2 separate regions of the Homo sapiens genome follow, and region 1 is linked to region 2. Evidence: promoter capture Hi-C in 16 types of primary human blood cells and fetal thymus (Javierre and others, 2016). All regions are on one chromosome and are shown on one strand. The core of a region is centred on a gene start or on the middle of the fragment in contact, and the rest is flanking DNA. Distances in the headings are between cores, read along the strand shown. Region 1 overlaps TXNRD3 (thioredoxin reductase 3). Region 2 holds the start of CHST13 (carbohydrate sulfotransferase 13).

The links. The method cuts DNA at HindIII sites, captures the fragments that hold promoters and counts their contacts. A CHiCAGO score of 5 or more calls a contact.
Region 1: a contact is called between a fragment that was not itself captured here and the fragment with the promoter of CHST13 in region 2, in 1 of 17 cell types (megakaryocytes). The highest score is 7.8, in megakaryocytes.

Annotation. Positions count from the first base shown.
Region 1 is chr3:126,630,646-126,638,157 of GRCh38, forward strand. It overlaps TXNRD3 (thioredoxin reductase 3), which reads right to left. Exons shown (of 16, transcript NM_052883.3): 7 at 3,264-3,406; 8 at 1,119-1,234; 9 at 67-292. Among named protein-coding and RNA genes, the nearest start is that of TXNRD3, 21 kb to the right of the region's middle. The HindIII fragment of the contact is 223 bases long and covers 4,298-4,520 here.
Region 2 is chr3:126,518,796-126,525,846 of GRCh38, forward strand. CHST13 (carbohydrate sulfotransferase 13) reads left to right here and starts at 5,360. Exons shown (of 3, transcript NM_152889.3): 1 at 5,360-5,634. The coding sequence starts at 5,538. RefSeq lists a silencer at 1,718-1,917 and enhancers at 4,684-5,184, 5,185-5,685, 5,746-6,246, 6,247-6,747. The HindIII fragment of the contact is 2,161 bases long and covers 3,871-6,031 here.

The DNA of each region.
Region 1 (7,512 bases), core at 3,159-5,658, 110 kb after region 2:
AATGAAGTAAGGTGAGATAAAGTGAAAAGTTAGAGAAAAAAAATTGCAAATGCCATGCAGCCTTACCATCACAGGTATGAATTTCCGTAGGAACTTCACACCATGCTGCTCCATGTAGGAACCCACTTTTTCTGCCATTTCTTGGTCGAAGCCACGGAGAAGGATTGAGCGTACCATAACTGTGACATCTAGGCCAAAGCCAGCCAGAAACCCTGCACACTCCAGGGCAACATAAGAGGCACCCACCACTAATGTTTTGCCAGGGCAATAAGGCAGAGAAAAAAGGTCATCACTGAAAAATAAAAATTAAAAAAAGAATACCTAGGCAGCAAGAATGAAATGAGTTATTCATGTTTCAGTGTATAATGGTCTTGTGATGACTGAATTATAATTTAGTGCTTGAATGAAGCAACAGCCTTTTGAAATTTGTAATTGAGTCTGCTGTGGAGAGAATGTGGAACAAGAAGTATACCTCAGATTTTTCTAAATCAGACCACAAGCAAGATTTTTTAAAAAATAAAATAGTATAGAAAATATCAGACTACATTACATGTGATAAAAAAAAAAACCTGTTTGTTTTGGAGATGTATGTACGTATGTGCTATGTGAAGAGGTGTGTGTTTGTTTACCTGAACAAAAAACTGCAACAAAAAATGTATTTCTTAATGTGAGTCAGCTCAAAAAAGTTTGCAAGTCATTACACACATGTCCTGTTTGACCACTAAGGAATATTCCCATTAAATCTCAGTGTTAAGAAAAGTGGTGCTGCTCCTCCCCAGCTGGCTCATTTTTATCATAAGGACACTAACCCCTAGAGCTAACTGTATTTACTTCTTTGTTTTGGCCTGTAAGAAGTTTAGAACAAAACTCCCAGGCTACTTCTAGGAATCACCGAGACACACACGGCATATTTTTGTACATAAATTTTGCCACTGGCCTTATTTACCTGACCTTATATTCTCTGTTTCATTACTTTTAACTATTTAGCTTCTTGCATTGTATATATTTTCATTTGTTAATTCAAATCTTTTGTGGAATAAGACAGGAAGTAAACTGGAAACATGTCAATATAATTCAATTTATTAACATTAAAGTTAAAATAGTCTATTTAACCTTACCTAGTAATACAGTATTCTTTATCTCCTTGGATTCCTAAATACCGTGGCCTTTCACCCGTTGCTATGACAAACTGTGCAGCAGTATAATAAGTCTCCTGTCCTTTTTTATTGGTTGCCTTGAAAAAAGAGAAGTAAACCTCACTTAGCAAACACTACAGAGTACCAGACACCCTGGACAAAATAGTTACTACCCTCATGGAGCTTCTCATTCAACAGCAACAGCAGACATGTGAAAAAGTAATAATGCAATGTGATAAGCACAAGCACAGAAAACAGAAGTCTTTATGAAATATTAATCAAAGCCCCATGGTGAGGGTAGGGTAGTGGACTAGAAAGCCAATCAAGGATGTATTAAAGAAGGAGTAGAGATTTTCAAGTGGAGATAAGAAAAATGAAATGATGGGAGAGGAACGGAGACCTGGAAGACAGAACAATGCGCACAAAAGCACATGAGCCCAGGAGGAGTTGGTGTTTGAAGACTGGAGAGCAGGGTTGTGTCAGAAGTCACATGAAACAGACTAGAGCCAAGTGCGAAGGCCCTTATGTCATCCTAACAACTTAGGCTATGGGGAACCAACAAAGGTTGCTCACAATTTTTAATTATACAAATAATTCAAAAATACATTTTCATTTTAAAAAAATTCAAATACTTTGGGAGGCCGAGGAAGGCAGATCACAAGGTCAGGAGTTCGAGACCAGCCTGGCCAACATGGTGAAACCCCATCTCTACTTAAAAAAACACAAAAATTAGCTGGGCATGGTGGTATATGCCTGCAATCCCAGCTACTTGGGAGGCTGAGGTGGGAGAATTGCTTGAACCCGGGAGCTGGAGGTTGCAGTGAATCAAGATCACGCCACTGCACTCCATCCTGGGTAACAGAGCAAGACTCTGTCTCAAAAAAAAAAAAAAAAGAAAGAAGCAACAACAAAAAAGAAACAACAAAAAAAGAAAAAAACCATTCACATGCTAATATTAATGAAGGTGTTTAAACAAGTGGGTTGGCATCATGAGTGGGATGGAGAACAGAGCCTGGAGAAAGAGCCTTGCTTAGAAGGGCTCTGAAACAGACAAGCAAGTACAGGCTCTGGGGTGAAACGGAGACTCTGGAGTTTCTCGCCTGCAGACTGGGAATGTGCTAGCATCACTAAACAAGGAGCCACACAACAGGCAGGCTTGGTTGGGGCTTATTCAACCATGTGTGCCAGGCAATTTGAGAAACACAACATGTATTTCTGCTGTGTTTCATGTAAATAATATAATTCAAATTGGCCCATGTAAGGTTTTAAAGGGCTGACTTTATCCTATTATATTTTTTTAGGGGTGAAATATATCTTTAACTGAATAAAGCACATCATCCAAAATATAGATTATATGGCAAATGATAACAACCGTTAAACCTAGGAATTGAATATTTGGATATTTACTGTGTTATACTCCCAATTTCCTGTTAAATTAAAAAAATTTAAATAAAATGCTGAAAATAAGCATTGAAGGGCAGCTTTAAATGGACCATACCTCACACATTTCTGAGATAACAGCTGAATACAAAATAATCTAAAATCTTGTGAAGATTATCTCACACTGTGCTAACAAAGTACAAAAATAAACTAGATGATGAGGACAATATCTGATTGTCATAATTCCAATTAAACTGTTTGTGTTCCTCAAAATGATCTCATTTTCCATATGTATTAATCTAATAATATATAAATATTACAAAGATAAACTTATAAAACACACTAATTCTAATGCTACTTTATCAATGCTTTTATGAATAATATAATATTGGAGTTCTAGTTAAGGTTTCATTTTTAGGAAGGATTCCACTAATAAAATTTTGATCTTTTTAGTCTTTTAAACTTTGAACTACTTAGTTTAAACATGTTCTCTTTTAAGACGGCAATAAAATCAAAGACAAATAATTTTTAATTAAGAGTTCTTTAAAACACAATTTCTTCAAGTTAACCAAACATGTAGAATTAGCAAACAATAGGGGAGAAACACACACACATGCATGGCCGTGTGTGTGTGTGTGCACGCACGCCTGTTACACCCCTTAACATGCAACATGAAATTTTAGTTGAAGGCAAGTATAAACAATTGTAAAGAAAGGAGATGAACAAGACAAGAAACTCAAGCACTACCTTTATTTTATGATGTTCAACAAATTCTCCATAGGAATTGACATAGGCCACAGCCTTTTCCCTCAGAGACAACCTGTAGCCCCAGTTTAGAGAGCTGATGTGGTTCTGAATCGCTTTTGTCATTGTCTCCCAGTTGTGCCTCACTAAGAAGAAATAATCAGGGTGAAGATGTTAGGTGAATTTTACCTTTAATGGTAAATTACATATAACCACACATGAGCCATACTAACAGTGCTTTAAAAATCAAGAAGTAGACAATCAGTAACTTAAATATTTTGTATGCCAGCCATAGTTTATACTCTTCCTAATTTATATTACAAAGAATGTGGAAAAATCAAGAGTTCTGAAAAGAAGAAAACTGGGGAAAAGTCCATGGAGGAGAAAATGGGGAAACTGGCCCTCATATGGCAACGCCTGCCACGACGTAAGGCAGGAGGCTCACCTCTCCTCGGTGGCACCTCCTAGAACCCTTTCCCACTCCATGGGACCTACTTTACTTGGCTCTTGGATGGGAAGAAGGCCTCAAGTCAGTGAGCTTGGTACACTCACCTCAACAGACTGGCATGGTTCCACTCTCATTTGGTTCACAGGGCAGTGGTTTCATGACAGTGAATATCTTACATGTCTTTACAACAAATATGGTTCACGCTCACCACTGCCAACCTTCAATATTACAGTGTTTACCCATTCCTTTGGAAGGTGGGGCAGGATTCGGGTGTTGGAATTCCACGTCATCCCTGTATCTTCTAGGTGGGATTTACTGCATAGTGTTCACCTTGTCTACAGATGCCAGATCCTGAAGGTCACCCTGTGCAGCTCTATGTTTATAAGATGCAGGGGTCAGCCCAGCCAGGGCTTTCATCATAACTGGATGAGATCCCCGAAGACAAACCAACAACCTGAGGTCAAGGGTAACATCTGGAAAATTACCCCATCTATCACTGTCAAGAAATGCCCCCCTACTCATCCAGGGACATGGGATGTTACCATGCAGGAAAGGGAGTCGACTGGAGGGGACAGTCAGTGCACAGAGAAGCTTAGCCAATGTCAACACACACGGCCCTTTCTATGATGCCAATGTACCAGTCTCCTAAAATTTTGCAACCCAGAATAGTCGTTCTTCTTACTACATTACCTCATCCTCCCACACCCTGTGATGTTGGTTATGATTCCCGAACCTGTCCCAGCAGTGACCACGTCACCACAATGGCACATATCCTCACATCCTAAAGATACTTCCTCCCCATCCCCTAGAAAAGCTTTTCTTCCAACCCTTAAACTATTTATCCTAAGAATCCTGTCAGCTCAACTAACAGTTCATGTGTCCTTTTGTTTCTTGTTCTTGTTGCAAAAGGCATCTTAGATTACAGGCTCTCAAATACAGCTGCACATCATAATGGGAATCATGTGGACCTATACAAATCCTAGGACCTGCCAAAAACTATGGAATCAGGAGTGGGACCCCAGAACCTGTACAGTTAAAAAGCTCCTCCTGGAGTTTTTGATATGCCAAATCAATGAACTGGCACTTTGAAACCACTTGTTCTACTGTTTTATTGATGTGTTTAGTCCTGCAACAGTATAATATTTTTAAATACTGAGAAAGGTCACCCTCTATACTTTCTCAAAGGTTGCTTAGCTATTTTCACATATGTATTTTTCAAAACGAATTTTAAAATAATCAGCCAATCTCCAAAAAGAAAAAAAAAGTCTCATGGAGATCTTACTGGACTTATATAAAATTTACAAACCATTTTTGAGATACTGTCTTCACAATATTGAGACATCCTCTATAAAAGCATAGTAAATTTTTTGTTATGCCTTTATATTCTTTCCTTATATATCCTGTACATTCCTGGTTGAATTTATTTCAAGTTATTTTCATTTTTTGTTACAATTTTCCATTATACATGTGAGTATGTGTATATATTTATATTACACACATCACACATACATATATATACACATACACATGTATATATACCTATATACACATAAACACACACACATATATACAAACACACACACAAACATATTTTAAGAGACAGAGTCTCATTCTGCTGCCCAGGCTGGAGTGCTATGGCATGGTCTTGGCTCACTGCAGCCTTGACCTCCCAGGTCCAAGTAATTCTCCTGCCTCAGCCTTTCGAGTAGCTGGAACTACAGGCATGAGCCACCATGCCCAGCTTATTTTTCTATTTTTTATTTTTGTAAGGAAGGGGTCTCGCTATGTTGCCCAGGCTAGTCTCAAGCTCCTCATCTCAAGCAATTTTCCTGCCACAGTCTCACAAAAGCAATCAACTTAACTCATTAGTTCTAATATTTCTTGTTTAATCTTTTATATATTCTATGTATGTTGTATATAATCATGTATAACATAACTCATACATTTAAAATATCTTTTTATTACTTCTTTTCCAATCTATGTACTTTTTCTATCGGCCCTTTGTGTGCACTGATCCAAAGCTCTAAACAGTGCAGATATCAGTAGTGAATGTCTGATTCTTGACTTAATTAAAATACCCCAAGTTCTTCTCCAATAAGTATTGCTTCTGACTCTTCTCCACCATGTGAAGAAGTATCTGTTTGTTTTCTAAAGCAGGAATGGGTATGAGATTTGTGTGAAATGCCCTCAGAGCTGAAATCCTGGCCATCATGCTGATTCTGTGCACTCCTGCTGTGCTATCCTGGGCTGACCCCCTCCCTGCACCCCACGGCGAGCCCTACCCACTCACATTTGTTCCTTCAAGACACTACCAGAGAGGATTTGCCAATGCTTGCCCTAGAGTTTGGGCACCTCTATGGGGTATAGTTTTCTATTTTTAGACTATCTTTCTGTATCATGGTTATTTCAGCCTCCAAAAAAAGGTGGCTTTTCTAAGTCTAGCTTTTCCAGAACAGTGTAAATCAAACTTGTCCAACCTGTGGCCCATGGGCTGCAGGAGGCCCAGGATGGCTTCAAATGTGGACCAACACAAATTTGTAAATTTTCTTAAAACATGAGGTTTCTTTTGTGATTTTTTTTTTTTTTTAGCTCATCAGCTATTGTTAGTGTATTTTATGTGTGGCCCAAGACAATTCTTCTTCCAATGTGGCCGAGGGAAGTCAAAAGATTGGACACCCCTGGTTTAAATTATACAGGAAGTGCCTGTTACTTGTAGATTTGGAAAAATGTACCTGTAACACTAATGGTACCTTTTGGAGACTGGGTTATTCTTACACAATATTTTTTCTTTGATTATTCAAGTCAATTCTGGTCATTTATATTTTCATAGAAGATATTCCTTTTCATCAAGATATTTAACATTATGACCACTAATTTTTATACTCAATTTGTGGCATCTCTCCCCATCTGTAGTTATACTTCTTTTCTAATGTCTGATGCTGCATATCTGTATGAGTTTCCCCCCTTATTTCCTTAATTGGATTTGCCAAACATTTGCCTATTTTATTTGTATTTTCAAATACAGTCTTGGTTTTGTTTATCAGTTCTATTTGGGAAGGGAGCTAACATTAATTTCTGAGTTTTTCTGTTTGCTTGTTTTTTGCTTATATTCAACCTATCTGATATTAACTACCACTGATATTATTTACATTTTCCTGCTATATCATTTTCCTGTTTAAAAATTTCTCATCTAAAATTTTAAATAGGAAATTCTTAATTTCCTACTTAAAATGTAAAATTTCCATATTTTCAACAATTATTTCTTTTGGTTTTAGGTATTTGTCTTAAACATAGCATATGGAAGAATTTTGCCATCTACTAACCCAAAAATCTGACTCATTCAGCTTTATCCTAGTAAGTAATATGACTACTCTTATGTAAGGTATCTTATTTTCTGTTGCTATTTTTGTTTGTTTTAACTTGTAGTTTCATGTTGCTTCCCTTTCTATTTTTTCTTTACTACCTTCTCTTTGTATATTTTCCCCTTTCTTTTTAAACTTTCACTTGAAAGCTCATTCAGTTTCTAATCTGGAAATTATCTATACATTATAAACTTATTTTAACCTATATTTCTCTCTCTTTTTTTTTTTTTTTTTTTTTTTTTTTTTTTGAGATGGAGTCTCACTGTCGCCCAGGCTGGAGAGCAGTGGCATGATCTCGGCTCACTGCAACCTCCGCCTCCTGGGTTCAAGCGATTCTCTTGCCTCAACCTCCCGAGTAGCTGGGACTACAGGCGCATGCCACCATGCCTGGCTAATTTTTTGTATTTTTAGTAGAGACAGGGTTTCATTGTGTTAGCCAGAA
Region 2 (7,051 bases), core at 4,110-6,609:
GGGGGAGCTGAGATTGGAGCCCTGAGGACCCAGAGGTCTGGCTCTAGCACCCTCCCATCCACGCTGGCCCTTTTGCAGCACAGGGAGGGCGCCCTTAATGGGGGTGATGTGAGACTGTGATAGAATAAGAAACAGGCTTTGATCTCTTCCCTGTTCCTGCCACAAAGCTCCTGAGGCCCTGGTAGATGGAAACTCTAGGAGAATCTTTTGTTCTAACGTTTGATCTTTGACCCTGGTTCCTGACACAGAGCTCCTAAAGCTGTTGGAATTTCCTGGGTGACAGGAGCAGAGCTCTTTTGTTCTACCGAGGGGACTCTTGGCAGATCCCTGATATCCTCAGGATTGGGGCTGGTTGACAAGGGAACCAACCTGTGATTAGAGGGTTGGAACCTTCAGCAGCCTCCTGACTTTGGGGAGGAGAGAGAAGCTGAAGGCTGAGTTGATCACCAAAGGCCAATGATTTAGTCAGTTGTGTAGGTCATGAAGCCTCCCTAAAAACCCAAAAGGACAGGGTTCAGAAGAGCTTCCCAGCAGCTGAGCACAGGCAGATTCCTGGAGAGGGTCATGCCCAGAGAAGGCACAGAAGCTCTGTGCATCTTCCCCACACCTCATCCTGGGCATCTTGTCCATCTGGCTGTTCATCTATATTCTTCGTAATGTCCTTTATAAGAAACCAGTACACATCAATAATAAAGGGTTTCTCTGAGTTTTGTGAGCCACAGTAGCAAATTAAATGAACCCTGGAATCCCCAGTTTATAGCCAGACTGTGGTCAGAACCACAGTCCACAGACCACAACCTGTGCTTGCAGCATCTGAAGTTGGGGGCGATCTTGTGGGACTGAGCCCTCAACCTGTGGGATCTCATGCCATCCCCAGCAGGTGGTGTCAGAGTTGAGCTGACTGGGACACCTAGCTGGAGGAGACACCCAGCTGAAAAGCTGGCTGCTGGAAAAAGCCCACATGTACTTTGGTGACTGGGGCGTGTTGTGTTGTGTTGTGTGAATGAAGAAGGACAAGGTTTGTTCTCATACTGGGCCTGTGGCATCTCTGCTCCTCACCAGCCAGGGCCACCTGGGACAGAGCATGCAGAAAGGTGCTCAGGCTTAAGCATCCCACACTCAATCCTTCTTATGACAGGTGCTGTTGCAGGCCCTGGGAACAGAGTGCACAAGACAGAAGTTGTGCAGCCTGGACGCCAGCGGCCAGCACCTTCGGCTGTCTTCTCAAGGGTGTCTTCTGGTGACCCTGAGTGTCTTCTTCCCACTCAGAGGGCAGCTGGAAGGGATGGAGAATTAGCAGCCCCTCCCCACCTGCCCAGGGAACAGCCCCTAAGCACCCAGGTCCCTTGCCCCTCAGGGTGGGGAGATTGTACCTCGGTCAGTTGCTTCCCCTGCCCAGCTCACTATGCACTCCCCAACAGACAGACCCTTAACAAACTGCACCAAGACCTGGTCTCAGGGCCCACTGCACAGGACGCCCCACGTCTCATGGCTCAAGAGCAGCCAGAAATCCAGCAGGTTTTCTGAAATCTCCTGAGTTTTAAACATCAGCAACCAATTTGTGAAAAGGTGAACATTGTGCAGAAGTCGTGTGGATGGCGTCCATGTCACATCCCCACTGGGCTACTGCAGTGTGGTTCTGCAAGATCTTAGCACTGGGGGAAAGTGGGTAAAGGGGACATGGGATCTTTCTTCCTTACAACTGCACACAAATCTAGTGACCCCAGAATAGTTTAATTAAAAGCAAACAAACATTGCCTAACTATTTAAAAGCACAAAGATCTTGGCTGGACGCGGTGGCTCATGCCTGTAATCCCAGCATTTTGGGAGGCTGAGGCGGGAGGATAACCTGAGGTCAGGAGTGCAAGACCAGCTTGGGCAATATGGCAAAACCCCGTCTCTACTAAAAAGACAAAATTAGCCGGGCATGGTGGTGGGCACCTGTAATCTGGCTACTCGAGAGGCTGAGGCAGGAGAATTCCTTGTACCCAGGAGGCGGAGGTTGCAGTGAGCCGAGACTGTGCCACTTCACTCCAGTCTAGGCAAAAGATCAAAAAAAAAAAAAAAAAAAAAAAGAGAGAGAGAATGAAGATCTCACAGAAGTTAAATATGGCAGACTGCTAGTTTCAAACAACCCTGGCTACATCACTCTCTAGCTGTGTCCTTGGGTAAGTTACTGAGCCTCTCATTGCCTCAGTTTCCTCATCTGTAAAATGAAAGTCTATTATATACCTCATAGGATGCATCTGAGGATCACATGAGATAACACACATGAAGGGCTTAGAATAGTGCCTTGCACAGAATACGTGCCAGACAAGATGAAGTATTATTTTTCTAACGGTTTCCTCCATGAAAAAAAAAAAAGCATCATCTCTCACAGAGACAGCTCTGGCTCCTCTCCTGGCCTCCACCTCCTCCCTGCCTCCCACAGAGCAGCAGAGGTGCCATCTGTGATTCAACTGTTCTTCAGGGACGGCTTCCCTCTGTGCTTAGAAAAACCCACCCATGGGATCTGGACTCCCTGTCTGCCTCTCTGACTTCACCCATTCACTCTCGCCCACTCCAGAACCTCCCTGCTATTCCTGGGACAGGCGGTGGTGGTTCTAAAACATGCCCGCAAATTCCTGGGCACTGCTGGTGGGTGTGGCCCCACTCCTGAGTCTGGTCCAGCCTCAGCGATCTTTGGGTAACCAACAAAAGGCAGCCCCAGGCCAGGTCAGAAAATGGCCACACAGCCAGGCTCTGTGGGAGCAGCACACCGGGCCCCAGGCTGGAGGGTGCCCCGAGGATGTCTGGAGGCCAGAGGGTGGCCCAAGGAGACCCCCAGAATGGAGGCTGCCCCCAGGAGGACCCCAGGCCAGAGGGTGCCCCGAGGGCTGGAGGGTGCCCCAGGAGGCCCCCAGAATGAAGGGTGCCCTGAGGGGATCCTTGGATCGCTGCCCAGCAGAGCTTCCAGACGGACACCACCTGCCAGTGTGAGCCAGTGGGACACTGGGCCTGGGTGAGCCTCCCAGTGATGCAGTGCCAGCTGCCTTCTGACTGTGGCAGCCTGAGACTCCCATGAGCACTCAGCCAAGCCCATGCCCCAATTCCCAATACACAAAATTGTGAGCAAAATTTAAATGGTTGTCTTAAGCGGCCAAATTTTAGGGCAGTTTGTTACCTAGCAACAGCAACTGGAACATCACCTCAGGGCCTTTGCAATGGTACCTGCTGGCTTCTGCTCCCTGGAGTCACATCTCTGCTCCAATGCCACCTCCCCCAGGCCTGCCCCGGCACCCTCCTTGCACCGGACACACTTTTCATCCTGGTACCCGCTGTGTTTTCTTCACAGCAGCATTCACCGCTCTATCTCTCTATCCTGATTTTCCGTGCTTCCAATCTGTAATGGAAATGCTGTGAGGGCAGACACTGCATGGGTCTCACCCTCTCCACCCAGGCCTCAGCACGGAGTGGGTGTTCTGTATCTGTCGAATGAATGAATGAATGCGAGTCCCTGGGAGAGGGCGTCTTCGCAGGGAAGCTCCCTAGGCCCCGGGCGTCTAGCCAGGCATCTGCACCCTCCCACCCCAAGACCCAAGACCATCTCTTCCTTTCTCCAGGGACCCCATTTCCAGGGACATCTCCGGATGAAGGGCTGAGATGTTATTCCCAACTTTGGCCACCAGGTGGCAGCATATAAGGGCAAAGCGCGCTGAGGATTCCAGGCTGGCAGTGAGGCCAGGGAATGCCGGTCTGGGGAAATTTGGAAGGCACCTTTGGATGCGAGTTAGGTCCGGCAGGGAATGCAGATGACCTGGAATCCCTGGGTCCTGGGCCAGTCTGGGGGTGGGCTAGAGGTTCCCCAAGGCCAGAAAAGTCATGATAAGAAGCTTCTAGCTTACTGTGAGTCTGGACTCCCACCCCTGTCCTTTGAGAACATCATCACCATTTAAAGCTGTATCTCAAAACCAGCAGAACTATTATTTGCTTAATATTCTTCCTTAAATAGATCTTCCACAACTTAAATAAATATAGTAGGGAGAAATTTTTATTTCACCACTTTAACAGAAACCAGCCACTTGCCAGAAACAGGCAGTAACCATAAACAAATTAATTACTAATATCAAATACTTACCTGGCACTCACTGAGTGCCAGACACTGTTGCAAACATTTCCTGTATCTCATTTAATCTTCACAGCACTGAGGTTTAGGATTATCCCCCCGTACAGGAAAATGGGAAACAGAGAGGTGCAGTTAATTTCCTAATCTCCCACAGCAGTAAGCGGCACCAGGTGGGTTTGGAGTCACCACATTTTTCAAGAACAGTTTAACAACTGGAGCTTCGAGTGTGGAATAATAGACACTGGAGACTTGGAAGGGTAGGAGAGTGAGCGAGGTGGGAGGGATGAGGAATTACTTAATGGGTACAATGGACATTATTTAGGTGATGGTTACACGGAAAGCCCAGACCTCACCACTGCATATCTCCATGTAACAAACCTGCACTTGTGTCCCTTACATTTATACAAAAAACTCCAAAAAAAACCTACAGTGTAATGTAGTACCCTATCCCATGCACTCACACTGCTAAATGTTGTTTCCAACGCACTCATCCGCGCACCCAGTGCCAGCTGCACCCTCCCGTTCCCTGCTAGCCTGACTTCTGGGCAGCAAGACCCTGCGGTTAGACGTGGGCTCCTGCCCACAGGGCTAGCTGGATGTGTGTGTCTTTCAAAGGCTGGACTTTACTCTCACCTCGCCCCCTCCACCCCCCAACACACACACACACACACACACACACACACACACACACAGTCCCTGGCAAGTCCTCAGAGCTCACGTGGTGCCCAGAGAAGTTGTGGGTGACACGATGAGGCACAAGCTCCATTCCCCGGGGGATGTAAGCTGAGACCCTACCTCTCTGTGCAAAGGCTAGTGCCACCTGCATGAGCTAGATTCAGGCAGGACCTGGAGACCCTGGAGGAAAGCAAGGCTGCAGGGTAGCCTTGGGTCGGGGAGGGAGGGACACTCTTAGGCCTCTTACTGAGGGCGGGGGTCCCGGAGAGCCATGGACAGGGCAACGCTCTACTAGGCTCCTTGGTTCATCCCAGATCAGCCCTTGGGCCCCTGGCATCTAAGGCAGCAAAAAGGCAAGGGGACACCGCCCGGGGTGGGGCACGCCACCGCGACAATGCCTCTTGGCCTTGGGTGGATAATGGCACCCCTGGGCAAACCCTAGGGGCGGGGCCCAGAGGCGAGGGGCTTCCCCAATCAGTCTCCGCCCTAGCGCCCTGGACTTCGGCCCCATTCCATTGGGTGAGGGTGGGGGCACGAAAAGAGGAGCGGGCTTGCGGCCCCACCGTGTCCCGCCTCCTCAGTCCCCAGCGACTCGCAGGGGCTGGTGGGGCTGGGGTCCAGCTGCCGTGCTCCCCTGCCCTGCGCCGCGCCGCGCGTCTTGGTAGGCGCTGCGCTGCCGGGGCCGGGTCCTGGGCCAGTGCAACTCCGCCCCCAGCCGTATCCAGCGGACTGTCCTCCGCCGCGCGCCCGGCACAGCATGGGGAGGCGCTGCTGCCGGCGGCGCGTGCTGGCGGCCGCCTGTCTGGGCGCCGCGCTCCTGCTCCTATGCGCCGCGCCCCGCTCCCTGCGCCCGGGTGAGTGCCCGCCGGCCGAGCCGCGCACCCCCAACCAAACCTGGCTCCTCGCGCTTTCCACCGCGGCCTGACCCCTCGACAGCGCGGGGGACACCTGTTGTCTCCTTCCTGGCTGGGGCTAGGGGTGGCGGGCAGGGGCGCTGGTGAGGCACAGAAAGGCTCTAGACGCCCCCGCGAGCAAAGGCTCTTGCTCCTCCTCCGGAGTTACCTCCCCACTCCCAGAGCGGTGACTGTTTTGAGTCCCACAGCCGGTGCCTGGAGACCGGGGTCAGTTGTGGGGGGTAGAGGACAATTGGCCAATCCGGGAAGGCCATCTCCCTTACCTTCACCCCCTTCCCCTGCGCACCCCACGGCCCCTGGACATGAGCGCTGCTGGGCGCATGCGCATAGGAGGGGAAGCTTGGGCCACTCGGTCCGGTCCCTTGGTTGTCCTACTGTGCAGTGGGTGCCACTCCCTGCTCCACCCTGAAATCCACACTGGGTAGGGCTTGGGACTCCTGTGCACCCACTCGTGGTCTGGCTGGGGAAACTGAGGCAGTTAGTCATGACTCCGCAGAGCTGAGTGCCCTGGGCTCCACCGGTGCTGAGTCTTTGCTCTGAGTCTCTCCTCAGCTCATGTGAAGCCTCCCATCAACCCATTTCACACAATCTGAAGCGGGCCAGAGAGTGGGGAGACAGGTGTGGTGGCAACGTGCTGGCTATACAATCTACTTGGGACTGGAGGGGCCCAGCCAGCGCCCGGGTCTCCTGACCTCAGGGCTGTTTGCCTTTCCTTGTATGTGGTATGCGTGCTGGGTGGGACGACTCAGTCCGCCTCCCCACCCCCAGTGTGGGCTCTGAGAATCCTGGGCCCCACCCTTGGAACCTGGCAGACACAGTCCCAGGGAGTAAGTAACTAGGTCCAGGGTGGGCGGGGATGTTGGGCAGTGGGGGTGGGAGTGGCCCAAGACTTGAGGATATCAGGGCCTGGGGAGGCCTCTGCCCACTCCCCCTGACCCTCACACTGCCCCTTGCCCCTTGTGTGTCCAGACACAGCAGGTCAGACCTGGATGCCTCCCCAAGCCCATGGGATAGGGCTGGGGTGTCTCTTTCCAGCACCCCCACAACCCCTTCTGTGAGCTGTCTGGTGGTGTTGAGCAGACAATCTCCTGGCAGTCTGGGGTGTGGACTCAGTGTCTGTGGCTGCCACAGCCTCTGTCCACCGAGTCATTCAGTAGACAGATGTTTACCCAGTACTAAGACAGGGCAGAACTTGGTGGCTACTGGCCCCTCAGGGCTCAGCGTGGGATGTTAGAGGACACCTGAGTGCCTGGGTCCCGGGGAGTGTCTGCAAAGGAGCATACATCTTTGAGTGACTGCATGGAGTGTCTGCGTCCCCATGTCTCCGTGGGACACCTCTCTCCTGTCACCTACTCTA